Regions from separate parts of the Homo sapiens genome. Here regions 1, 2 and 3 are each linked to region 4. The links are contacts of gene promoters, found by promoter capture Hi-C in blood cells and fetal thymus (Javierre and others, 2016). All regions are on one chromosome and are shown on one strand. The core of a region is centred on a gene start or on the middle of the fragment in contact, and the rest is flanking DNA. Distances in the headings are between cores, read along the strand shown. Region 1 has its middle 2.0 kb from the start of ARL6IP5. Region 2 overlaps TMF1 (TATA element modulatory factor 1). Region 3 overlaps ATXN7 (ataxin 7). Region 4 holds the start of EPM2AIP1 (EPM2A interacting protein 1).

The links. The method cuts DNA at HindIII sites, captures the fragments that hold promoters and counts their contacts. A CHiCAGO score of 5 or more calls a contact.
Region 1: a fragment that was not itself captured here is called in contact with the fragment with the promoter of EPM2AIP1 in region 4 in 4 of 17 cell types (total CD4 T cells, naive CD4 T cells, activated CD4 T cells and 1 more); the score reaches 8.1 in total CD4 T cells.
Region 2: a contact is called between a fragment that was not itself captured here and the fragment with the promoter of EPM2AIP1 in region 4, in 1 of 17 cell types (total CD8 T cells). The highest score is 5.8, in total CD8 T cells.
Region 3: a fragment that was not itself captured here is called in contact with the fragment with the promoter of EPM2AIP1 in region 4 in 1 of 17 cell types (total CD8 T cells); the score reaches 5.4 in total CD8 T cells.

What each region holds. Positions count from the first base shown.
Region 1 is chr3:69,081,535-69,084,269 of GRCh38, reverse strand. No RefSeq gene overlaps it. Among named protein-coding and RNA genes, the nearest start is that of ARL6IP5, 2.0 kb to the left of the region's middle. RefSeq lists enhancers at 1,170-1,329, 2,134-2,193. The HindIII fragment of the contact is 2,467 bases long and covers 180-2,646 here.
Region 2 is chr3:69,025,843-69,028,542 of GRCh38, reverse strand. It overlaps TMF1 (TATA element modulatory factor 1), which reads left to right. Exons shown (of 17, transcript NM_007114.3): 12 at 248-317; 13 at 551-643; 14 at 2,446-2,547. Among named protein-coding and RNA genes, the nearest start is that of EOGT, 14 kb to the right of the region's middle. The HindIII fragment of the contact is 1,042 bases long and covers 742-1,783 here.
Region 3 is chr3:63,974,319-63,977,156 of GRCh38, reverse strand. All of the region lies in intron 5 of ATXN7 (ataxin 7), which reads right to left. Among named protein-coding and RNA genes, the nearest start is that of PSMD6-AS2, 28 kb to the left of the region's middle. The HindIII fragment of the contact is 254 bases long and covers 1,455-1,708 here.
Region 4 is chr3:36,991,747-36,994,446 of GRCh38, reverse strand. EPM2AIP1 (EPM2A interacting protein 1) reads left to right here and starts at 1,316. Exons shown (of 1, transcript NM_014805.4): 1 at 1,316-2,700. The coding sequence starts at 1,370. MLH1 (mutL homolog 1) reads right to left here and starts at 929. Exons shown (of 19, transcript NM_000249.4): 1 at 784-929. The coding sequence starts at 899. RefSeq lists enhancers at 228-739, 656-875, 1,246-1,595, 1,716-2,035, 2,066-2,145. The HindIII fragment of the contact is 4,668 bases long and covers 445-2,700 here.

The sequences.
Region 1 (2,735 bases), core at 164-2,663, about 32 Mb before region 4:
TCCAGCATTTTCTGGGCAGAAATATGCATTCCACTTCAAAAGTTTTCTTAGTTTTATTGCAATATTTGGTGACAGCTTTCACTGAGGGACCACAATATATTCATAGATAACGTGATGTTTTGTATCCCAGCCCAAAGACCTGGCAAAAGAAGTATTCGTTGTCAATTCTCTTCTAAGCTTCCAAGGGTCATCTTTTTTCAGTTAAGGGGCTGATTGGTACAATGCATGAGAAAAAAAGTAGTTTGTTTAATTGTATAATGTAATAGGTAGAATTCTAAGGTGAAGATTTCTAAGATAACAGAGTCTCTAAGCCCCTAAGTGGCTTAGACAAGGTGAATTCACTCTACTCAGATCACCAATTTTTGAAAACTTGGAAAGTAATGAAATATACTAATGCAAAGTCTAGAAAACATAATTTAATTTTCCTTATTAATTCAGAAGACAGTTAAGGAGCTTACAGCGACTCTAAGAAATTACTACTACTACTGTTGTTTAGGAAAATTTGGTGATTGCATGGAATTAGTGCTAAGATATATCTTATGTGCTGCTTTTTGAATAAAGTTTAAAATGTGAAAATATTCCTGAGTGCTCATGTTTTCTTGATTCTGGAAAAATGGGATGGTGTGAAGTCAGAGAAAGCAAAATTAGAGTCGCAGCTCCTTCCTCTCTGGCAGGTGACTTTGGAGAAACTACTTAATCTCTCCCAGCCTCGGTGTCTTCATGTGTAAAGTGGGGATAATGGAACATCTGCCATATAGACGAGGCTAAGTGAAGGAATGTATAGGAAATGCTTAGTGTATAATAAAGGTTCACAGTTATATGTTACTATTATTGTTATTAGCAATAGGATAGCCCACGATTCTTGTTTGCTATTAATAGTGCTTTAATCTGATTTGTTTTCTATGCTTTCATTATAAACATCTACTAACTTTTCTCTACCTTGCTCCAACTTTATTGTTGTGGATGTATCTGGGTAGGGGGAAAAGGTTGAGAATATTCAGTACAATGCCAGCAAGTATTTCGAGTTCTTTTGAGGCTCTGTGAAAGCACTGTGGGTTTTTTTTCTTTTCTTTTCTTTTTTTTTTTAAAGAGGAGAAAAATGTAATCCTGCTCTGCCTTCAAAACTTCTGCAATCCAGTGGAAACACTAGTTAAATATGAGACAGTAAGAGGAGTGCTAAATAGAGATGCACTGAGCCTCAGTGCTCAGTTACAGGAAGTCAGAGGGTGTGGAGGAATTCCCCAGGGCTTCAGAATGTCAAGAGGCAGCACTGTGGGCAAGCTGAGTAAATCATCTTGGTCAAGATGAGAGTGGGAACTCCAGTGGGGCCCCACACTGTTGGTGAGATTTATGAGTATTAGAAGCTGTAACTAAGAACTTTATCTTCCAACTGCTCAGAACTGCATGACCAAAAGCTGTCAAGAGTGTATTAGTAACAATATGATTACTCCTTGATCACAGGCAATTGATACCCAAGAAAGAATTAAACCTCTTTAGAGGTTTAAACATAAATAAATAAATTCTGAAAAGACAGAGAAAGCTGTTTATAGCATGATTCCCTTCTGTCTCCCTCCCAAAATGTTAACCCTGTCTCTCTCTTTGGGGTATGGGAGATTTTTTTTTTCTCTAAATATTTCTACCTTTGTTAAATTATTTTAAATAAAAATGAACATGTAATGAGTCATTACTTTTTTCCAGTAACTGTTTGAAATGCTATTAGTAGCAGCTCTTTGTTAGTGTTCATTCCGGGGAGGGAGGGGTCAGATTCACTGTAGAGGTCTTTCTGGAGCTTTAATTTATTATTATTTTTAGAGACAGGGTCTCACTATGTTGCCCAGGCTGGTTTTAAACTCCTGGGCTCAAACAGTCCTCCCACCTCAGCCTCCCAAGTAGCCGGGACTACAGGTGTGGGAAGCCGAGCCCTGCTTGATGGGGCTTTTATAATGGGACTGGTGTGTCTAGATAGGACCATTCAGACTATCTGTCTGTTTAAAAACCATAGCAGATAGTCTAATTGTTTATGATATGTTCCATTTGAAGTAAAATAAATCTGTTGAAGGTTTTGCTTGCATGTCTCTGTTGCTTTCATTCCTGGCAAGGGCAGATGGCTATTTCTAATCCGTCAATCAATCTAAGCCAGTGAGAGTGCCTGGTGTCGTTTATCAAAATACCACCATGGTGAGTCAGGCTGTTAGTCTCAAAGCAAGCAGATGCAGGGCCAGATACCTTTGCAGACTTCTTCATCGGCTAGCTGTACTCTATCCCTAGGCCTCAGTTTCCTCCCCTGTGAAATGGGTGAGACTGGACTAGGTGGCCTTTAAGGTGACTGCTGCTTTTCACTATCTGAGAGGGTTGCAATGCTCACTACCACTAATCAAAGGGTATCCAGTATTGTTGGGGGTTCAGGCTACAGGAGCCCATTTTGATAAGCACTGAGGTTAAATCCTCAGTGAAACCATCTGTGGAGTTGTCTGGGCAAGAAAAAGTAGTTTCATAGTTGACGCTGAGACATGTGATGCAGAAGGAGGCTGGTATCTCTTGATAGGGACTGTGAACTCTATTCCCACGCTCACTGCCTGGCATTGACTTTCAGCTCAGTGAATGCTATTGAACTGAACCTAATTGGGGGACCATAAAGGACAAGCTTTCCTTAAGGTTCACTGAAAACTAGGACAAGAGGAGGTTAAATATCACAGTGTAGTAACAGCAGCTACATTTACTGAGTACCCATCAGG
Region 2 (2,700 bases), core at 13-2,512, about 32 Mb before region 4:
TGAAATCTTAACCCAGAGCACCAATAAATAAAATGCACAGAAGTGGAGCTTTTTCACTTTTGGTTTGGTTTCTGAGTGAAACTCAGATGGGATCTGGAACACACTGTTGGAAAATCACTGATGTCAAGCTGGTAATAAAAATGATTTCTCAATATGTAGCTGGAGTTAATAAAGTACTGAGTTTTTAATAGTCTATACTAGCATCTTTTTCATTTTCTGTTTTTTTAAATTCTGCCTTGTTTAATAGGTACCAGGTTGAATTGGAAAACCTAAAAGATGAATATGTAAGAACACTTGAAGAGACGAGGAAAGAAAAGGTATTTCTCTTCGTGACCACTCAGCTCTTAGGGCATACATTAGAGAATGGTTGGGGATGGCAGCAAATTAATGAGATAACAAGATGAAATGGGTGATGCCACTGCTTTTGGAACTTGGTCTTTAGTAGGAAAACAAATATGAGTTTATACTTTATGCTTCTAACTTTGAGATTGACTTATCATGGCATGAATTACTATCACAGAAATTGTCTAACTTTATTTCTCTCTATTAGACATTGTTGAATAGTCAGTTAGAAATGGAAAGAATGAAAGTTGAACAAGAAAGGAAGAAAGCCATTTTTACTCAAGAAACAATAAAAGAAAAGGTATTGAATTTTGTTTTTGTTTGTTTGTGGTGTAACCATTTAGTAGATGCTGTGATTAATCATTGCTTTTTAATTTTAGCTATGCTTTATAACAAGCTTGTCCAACCTGTGGCCCTGGTTGGCATGTGGCCCAGGATGATTTTGAATGAAGCCCAACACAAATTTGCAAACTTTCTTAAATCATCATGAGATTTTTTTCATGATTTTTTTTTTTTTTTTTAGTTCATCAGCTATTGTTAGTATATTTTATGTGTGGCCCAAGACAATTCTTGTTCTTCAAATGAGGCCCAGGGAACCAAAAGATTGGACATCCCTGCTTTATAAGTATCATTTTTTTAATGTCTAAAATCAACATAGTGATGAATTCTAGTATTATAATCAGTGTCCTGCTCAGAGTGGACCCAAAGTAATTTTGAGTTTATCCAAAGAGATCTATGATTTCTAGGACTTGAAATATAAAACCTCTTGCCCTTTTTAAAAATGAATTTAATTGTCTGTCACTGAAACCAGTGCACATCATTTGGTCTATAGGCACTTAAGGAGTAAGTCTGGCTTGTTTTCTTTCTGGTTAATGAGGGTAATTTTTCTGAAATGAGTTTTCTGAGGCTGAGCATGGGGACTCACATCTGTAATCCCAGCACTTTGAGAGGCTGAGGTAGGTGGATCACTTGAGGCTAAGAGTTCAAGACCAGCCTGGCCAACATGGCAAAACCCCATCTCTACTAAAAATACAAAAATTAGCCGGGCATGGTGGCATGTGCCTGTAATCCCAGCTACTCGGGAGGCAGAGGTGGGAGAATTGCTTGAACCCGGGAGGCGGAGGCTGCAGTGAGCCGAGATCGCATCACTGCATTCCAGCCTGGGCAACAGATCGAGACTCTTTCTCAAAAAAATAAAAATAAATAAATAAATAAAAATGAGTTTTCTGTATTGAAAGAATTACCGTGTACTTGGAGTTAGCATAATATATTTAAACTACCGATAGGTAAATTTAAATTACCTATTGAATTTATTTGGAATTTTAAGAATACATTAAAAATAAAATGGATAAGCCAGAAATTTTATGATTTGTAACACTCATTAGTAATTTTATGTTACAGAAATAGGTTTAATTGATAGTATATTGTATAATATGAAGCTTAACAGAAACATTCTTATTCTATTATAAAAACCCAACAAATTACATTGTTGTAATAAATGGGTTCTGTGATGATCTAACCAAGTCTAGCTACAGTTTTAATTAGTAAATATTGTACTTTTTTTTTGTTTGTTTGTTTTGGAGACTGAGTTTTACTCTTATTGCCCAGGCTGGAGTGTAGTGGTGCTATCTCAGCTCACCGCCACCTCCACCGCTATCTCGGCTCACCGCAACCTCACCTCCCAGGTTCAAGCGATTCTGCCTCAGCCTCCCGAGTAGCTGGGATTACAGGCATGCGCCACCACGCCCAGCTAATTTTGTATTTTTAGTAGAGACGAGGTTTTTCCATGTTAGTCAAGTTGGTCTTGATCTCCCAACCTCAGGTGATCCACCCTCCTTGGCCTCCCAAAGTGCTGGGATTACAGGCATAAGCCACCATGCCTGGCCAAATATTGTATTTTTGACTTAAGAAGCCATTTTATGGGGAAATTAGAATGAATCTTAAAAAAGTTTTTTTTCTTCTTTTGATTGTATTGAATTCCTTTGTAGTGTGGCTTTTTTAAAAGACTGAATCTTTGTTCTCATTAACCCTAGGAAATGTTCTTGCTTTCTCTGCTTATCTCTTTGCTCTTTAATATGAACAGAATTTTTTTTACTCCCTAAGGAACGCAAGCCATTTTCTGTTTCTAGCACTCCCACCATGTCACGCTCAAGTTCAATAAGTGGTGTTGATATGGCAGGACTACAGACATCTTTTCTGTCTCAGGTGATGTTTTATTTTTTATATGTGCTTAGTTCTTAGAATAATAATAAAGGAAATATGCAAATGGCAATATTGTCTGTCATCATGACCTTGCCATTCTATGGGTAATTCATCTGAATACTTGTGGAGGAGTGCTAATTTTAGTGAGAGGAAACA
Region 3 (2,838 bases), core at 332-2,831, about 27 Mb before region 4:
CCTGGCTGAAATGAGCCACGTAGGAAAACACAAAATGCACAACCCCTCAAACTTCCACCATCTACCTCAGTTCACCACCATGGGTGTTATTAACCACACCCAAACACAGCTGATGCTACAGTTTTTCATCCAATTTCAGATAACCTCCTTCCATGACTTCACAGTCAAGCTGCAACCCTTCCCACGCCTTCCACAAGCAAATGCCAGGTCTTTTCAAGGTAACTGCCATGTTTATTCTAGTATTTATGTATTTTTTTACCATTTAACATTTGTAAGACTGTGCTACCCTTTTCATTAGGTTCCTATGTTTTTCTGTGTGTGTCACTGATGAGGTCTTTGAGTGTTGTGCCATAACCCTGTTTTCCCAATAAGCCTCATGTGGTTTTTGTTGCGTAATTTTGCATTGTGCAGTAATTTTTTAGGAATGCATGTTGTGCTATAGCAGAACTGACTGTAACTTTAAGCTTGTCCTTTCAATTTTCCATTCCCATCACTGTCCATCCTCCCCGTTTTCTTTGGTTAAAATCTTCTTTTCTTGCCTATTAACTCTTAATATGGAATTCCACTAGAAAAATCAAGGTTCAAAGCTTCTTAAGTTAAAAGTCTGCTGATGTATCGATAATATCCCAAAAAAGTCTATTTTCTACTTCAATAACAATAAAAACTATTTAAAAACTAAGAATGACAATCTATCATGTGAATTTTTCATTCATTAAAACTTGAAACAGATTGTGTGTGTGTAGTGTGTGTAAGTAACTGAGATTCTGGCTGAAAAGTGCCAGCTCAAATTCTTGTCATGCTACTGAATTATCACGGACTGGTAACTTACTCTGTGAAAAGGACAGCATCTGGCTTTCCCCCCACAAGAAAGCAAGAAGGAAAAACCAAATTTATTGTAGTTGAGTTGGACTCCCCTTATCCTTTCACTGAGCTCTTATTTTTCACAGGATTTTAAACTGGGCATCTAGCTCTAAAAAAGTGTTTGCTCCCAGATCAGAAGAGAAGTGGGCAAATTATAGGTGGGGTTAGGGACCCTATATTAAGTGGACAAAGTGGTGGCCAGATGCTGAGCACAACTGCAATGTGGTCTGCTGAGGAGTCCAAGTTGAGTTTTCAAAGCGCTCCTCTCTCCAGGATCTGGCACCAGCCCAGAGAAAGCACACTCTGTCCCTGAATGAGGAGGGCATGATGAATGGCTCCAGTAAGGGAGAGACAGGCCGACTGACAGACAAGTACAGACACAAGAAAAGAGCAGAGACAAAGAAAGACAAACATGCCTAAGTGTGTATGTGTGTGTTGTGCTGGGGAGAAGAGAGGGAGACAGAGCTTCATGGGGCTCTTTCCCCTTGTGGCTTCAGTACGTCACATGGCAAGGACAGGATATTAGTAGTGGTGTAGGAGGGTGGACAGCTCTCTATAGGTCTTCCAAAATAGAATGCAACCAATACTAAGCTTATAATTCTGAATTCACGCTGAGATTTTTTTAAAGTTATAAGTATTAACATCCAGGTACACACCAAAAAGGAGTTCAAAGCAAATAATTAGATCTTTTTATATCATAAATATTGCTTTGAAAACAACTAAAAATAATTTACAGTGAGCAACTGTCAAAATTAGGGCACAAATCTAAAAAGCAGTCAAAACAAAATGTAACTCCAAATGCTAACATTCATACTCGAAAATAATCTAGAAGGATATATGTCAAGCTTTTTAAAAAGTGGTTATTCCCAGGATTATGGCTCTATTTTTTAAAACATTTGTGTATTGTTTTTCTATAATGAATACAGTTTACTTGGTTATCAAATACATACTTCTAAAGAAGAAAAATTTGGTGTTCTGGTTTCAATTTTACACATGCCAAAATAAAGCAAGGCATACTATCATTCCTGAGCATAGTATCAATTTGTCCCATTCTCAACGGGTATCATGCAAGTGGCTAACTACTAAGAAACCCCCACAGAACCTGAATTAAATATCTTCAGTTCTGCTATAAAGCTTGTTTTGAGAATGAAAATGCATTCCAAAGCCACCGATATACTAAGAAACAATTCGAACATGTTGAAATTTTGCATTTACTTTTTCATGATTTTTGTCTGTAAGAAATACTAGGTGAACACAGAAAACTGTAACTGGCTGAAATGAGCCATGTGGGAAGATTCAAAATGTACACCCTCAAACTTCTACCATCTACCTCAGTTCACCACCACGTGTATTATTAACCACACCCAAACACATCTGATGCTACAATTTTTCATTCAATTTCAGATAACCTCCTTCCACCATCTCATGGTAACTCACAAGCTGCAACCCTTCCCATACCCTTTATTCAGGGCTCTTTTCTTATAACTTATTAAACATTTTACTAATCTTTTATAATCCAAACAACTGGCTGATGAGAAATCTCACCTTCAAGAACAACAACATCAACAACAGCTGCTACTGTGTACTGTGTAGAAACCACATGCCAGGCACCATGCTACGGGATTTACATGGATTATCTCATTCAATCCTGACCATCTTTCTAACAAAGTAGATACTATTATTAACCTCACTTTCCAGATGAGGAAGCCAAGGCTTTTAAAGGACTCAAGTCAGTTGTCCAACATCACATGGTTACTTAAGAGGCAAAGATGGGTGCAATCCCAGGCAGGCTGACTCCAGCACCTGGGTGAAAGCACAAGGCAACTTGCCTGCTCTGAAATGGCATTATTAGCAAGTCATAATACATGATGGAGGGGCAGGGATAAAGGTGAGGGCTGGGGCATAAATCAGTAAGAAGCCCATCTTCCCTAAGTGCTGGGCAAAATCAGGTTGTTAGTGTACAAGTCTGCATAGGCT
Region 4 (2,700 bases), core at 67-2,566:
GTACGGACGTCACTAACAACTGATTTTAACAAAATAATCTGACATAACGTTTAGGTGTATTTTGGGCTTGTCTTTTTGGAAGTTTATAGTCTGCACTCACTTTTCCTTCCACATGTTTCAAATCTCTTCCCTTCACATTTTTTGTCACAGTTATAAGCTTCAAAATCCAAGGATGACCCATAAAATCTGGTATCTTCGAAGTGCGTCCTCCGAAATAAAGGACAGGAAAACACTAAGAGGGGTCACTAATTTAACAATAGGGTAATCAGAAGTCAAGCCCAAAGTGCATCAGCCTGTCCTAAAACTACAAACGATTTGTTTTGAAAGAAACTCAAAATGAATTGTGCCTTTGGATGTGAACAGATGATTTCTGGAATGAATGAAAAGCAAGAAAACAGTAACACAGTACCCTCTGAAAAAAGGTTTTTCTCCCCATCTTAAGCTTTTATACATCTTTTAACTTCGCATGTTCTGCATACATAATTTTAAATTAAGTGGCTTCCTTACTTAGTTAACGGTACCATTAAGACAACACTACGTATATTCCTCCACTTACACTCCAAACAACCCTTAAAAGGTCTCGGGGGAGAGCGGTAAAGAAACACACGGTCTGCGGAAAAGGAGAAGGCCTGACTGGCACGTCAGGGAACCCGGCGGCCTCCGCCGTTGTGGGCATGCGCTGTACATGCCTCTGCCCGGGCAAAGAGGCGTGTCCGCGCCATTGAGTGACGCGGCCCGTTAAGTCGTAGCCCTTAAGTGAGCCCGGCTCGACTCCCTCCGTACCAGTTCTCAATCATCTCTTTGATAGCATTAGCTGGCCGCTGGATAACTTCCCCCGCCGCGATGCGGTTCACCACTGTCTCGTCCAGCCGCCGAATAACCCCTGCCACGAACGACATTTTGGCGCCAGAAGAGCCAAGGAAACGTCTAGATGCTCAACGGAAGTGCCTTCAGCCAATCACCTCAGTGCCTCGTGCTCACGTTCTTCCTTCAGCTGTAGCTTACGCCATCCAGCCCCACCCTTCAGCGGCAGCTATTGATTGGACAGCTTGAATGCCAGTCAAATTTCTCAACTCTGTGGGTTGCTGGGTCTCTTCGTCCCTCCCTGAAGCGGCTACTGCCCGCTACCTAGAAGGATATGCGCTTGCGCGTTAGAGATCGCTGTCCGCTCTTCCTATTGGTTCGTTTTTAGGAGCTCGGGGAATACGAAATATCCAGCCAATAGGAGCAGAGATGCCGGAACCGGGCTTGTGTGCCTCTGCTGAGGTGATCTGGCGCAGAGCGGAGGAGGTGCTTGGCGCTTCTCAGGCTCCTCCTCTCCCCTTGCGGCCTTTCTAACGTTGGCCCTGCTCTTGTGGCCTCCCGCAGAATGTGGATGACGCCCAAAAGAAGCAAGATGGAAGTCGACGAGGCTCTAGTTTTCCGGCCCGAGTGGACCCAGCGTTATTTGGTGGTGGAGCCTCCGGAGGGCGATGGGGCCCTGTGCCTGGTCTGTCGCCGCCTCATCGTAGCTACCCGCGAACGCGACGTCAGGCGCCACTACGAGGCTGAGCACGAATACTACGAGCGGTATGTGGCGGACGGCGAGCGCGCGGCCCTGGTGGAGCGTCTGCGTCAGGGCGACTTGCCCGTGGCCTCCTTCACTCCTGAAGAGAGAGCTGCTCGTGCAGGCCTCGGGCTCTGCCGCCTCTTGGCCTTGAAGGGTCGCGGCTGGGGTGAGGGGGACTTTGTATACCAGTGCATGGAGGTGTTGCTGAGAGAGGTACTGCCCGAGCATGTAAGCGTCCTGCAAGGCGTTGACTTATCTCCAGATATCACAAGGCAGAGGATCCTGAGCATTGACAGGAATCTACGCAACCAGCTTTTTAACCGAGCCAGGGACTTTAAAGCCTATTCTCTTGCCTTGGACGACCAGGCTTTTGTGGCCTATGAGAACTACCTCCTGGTCTTTATCCGCGGTGTAGGCCCTGAGTTGGAGGTGCAAGAAGATCTTCTGACCATAATCAACCTGACTCATCATTTCAGTGTTGGTGCGCTCATGTCGGCAATCCTAGAGTCCCTGCAGACAGCAGGGCTTAGCTTGCAGAGAATGGTTGGACTGACCACGACCCATACTTTGAGGATGATTGGTGAGAACTCAGGACTCGTCTCATACATGAGAGAAAAGGCCGTAAGCCCCAACTGTTGGAATGTCATTCATTATTCAGGATTTCTTCACTTGGAACTGTTGAGCTCCTATGATGTAGATGTTAATCAGATCATAAATACCATATCCGAATGGATAGTTTTGATTAAGACCAGAGGCGTTAGGCGACCTGAATTTCAGACTTTACTAACGGAATCTGAATCAGAGCATGGTGAAAGGGTTAATGGACGATGTCTGAACAATTGGCTTAGGAGAGGGAAAACTTTAAAACTAATATTCTCTCTAAGAAAAGAAATGGAAGCGTTCTTGGTTTCAGTAGGGGCAACAACAGTCCACTTCTCAGACAAACAATGGCTTTGTGACTTTGGCTTCTTGGTGGACATTATGGAACACCTTCGAGAACTCAGTGAAGAATTACGAGTTAGTAAAGTCTTTGCTGCTGCTGCCTTTGACCATATTTGTACTTTCGAAGTTAAGCTGAATTTATTTCAAAGACATATTGAGGAAAAAAATCTAACAGACTTTCCTGCCCTCAGAGAAGTTGTTGATGAGCT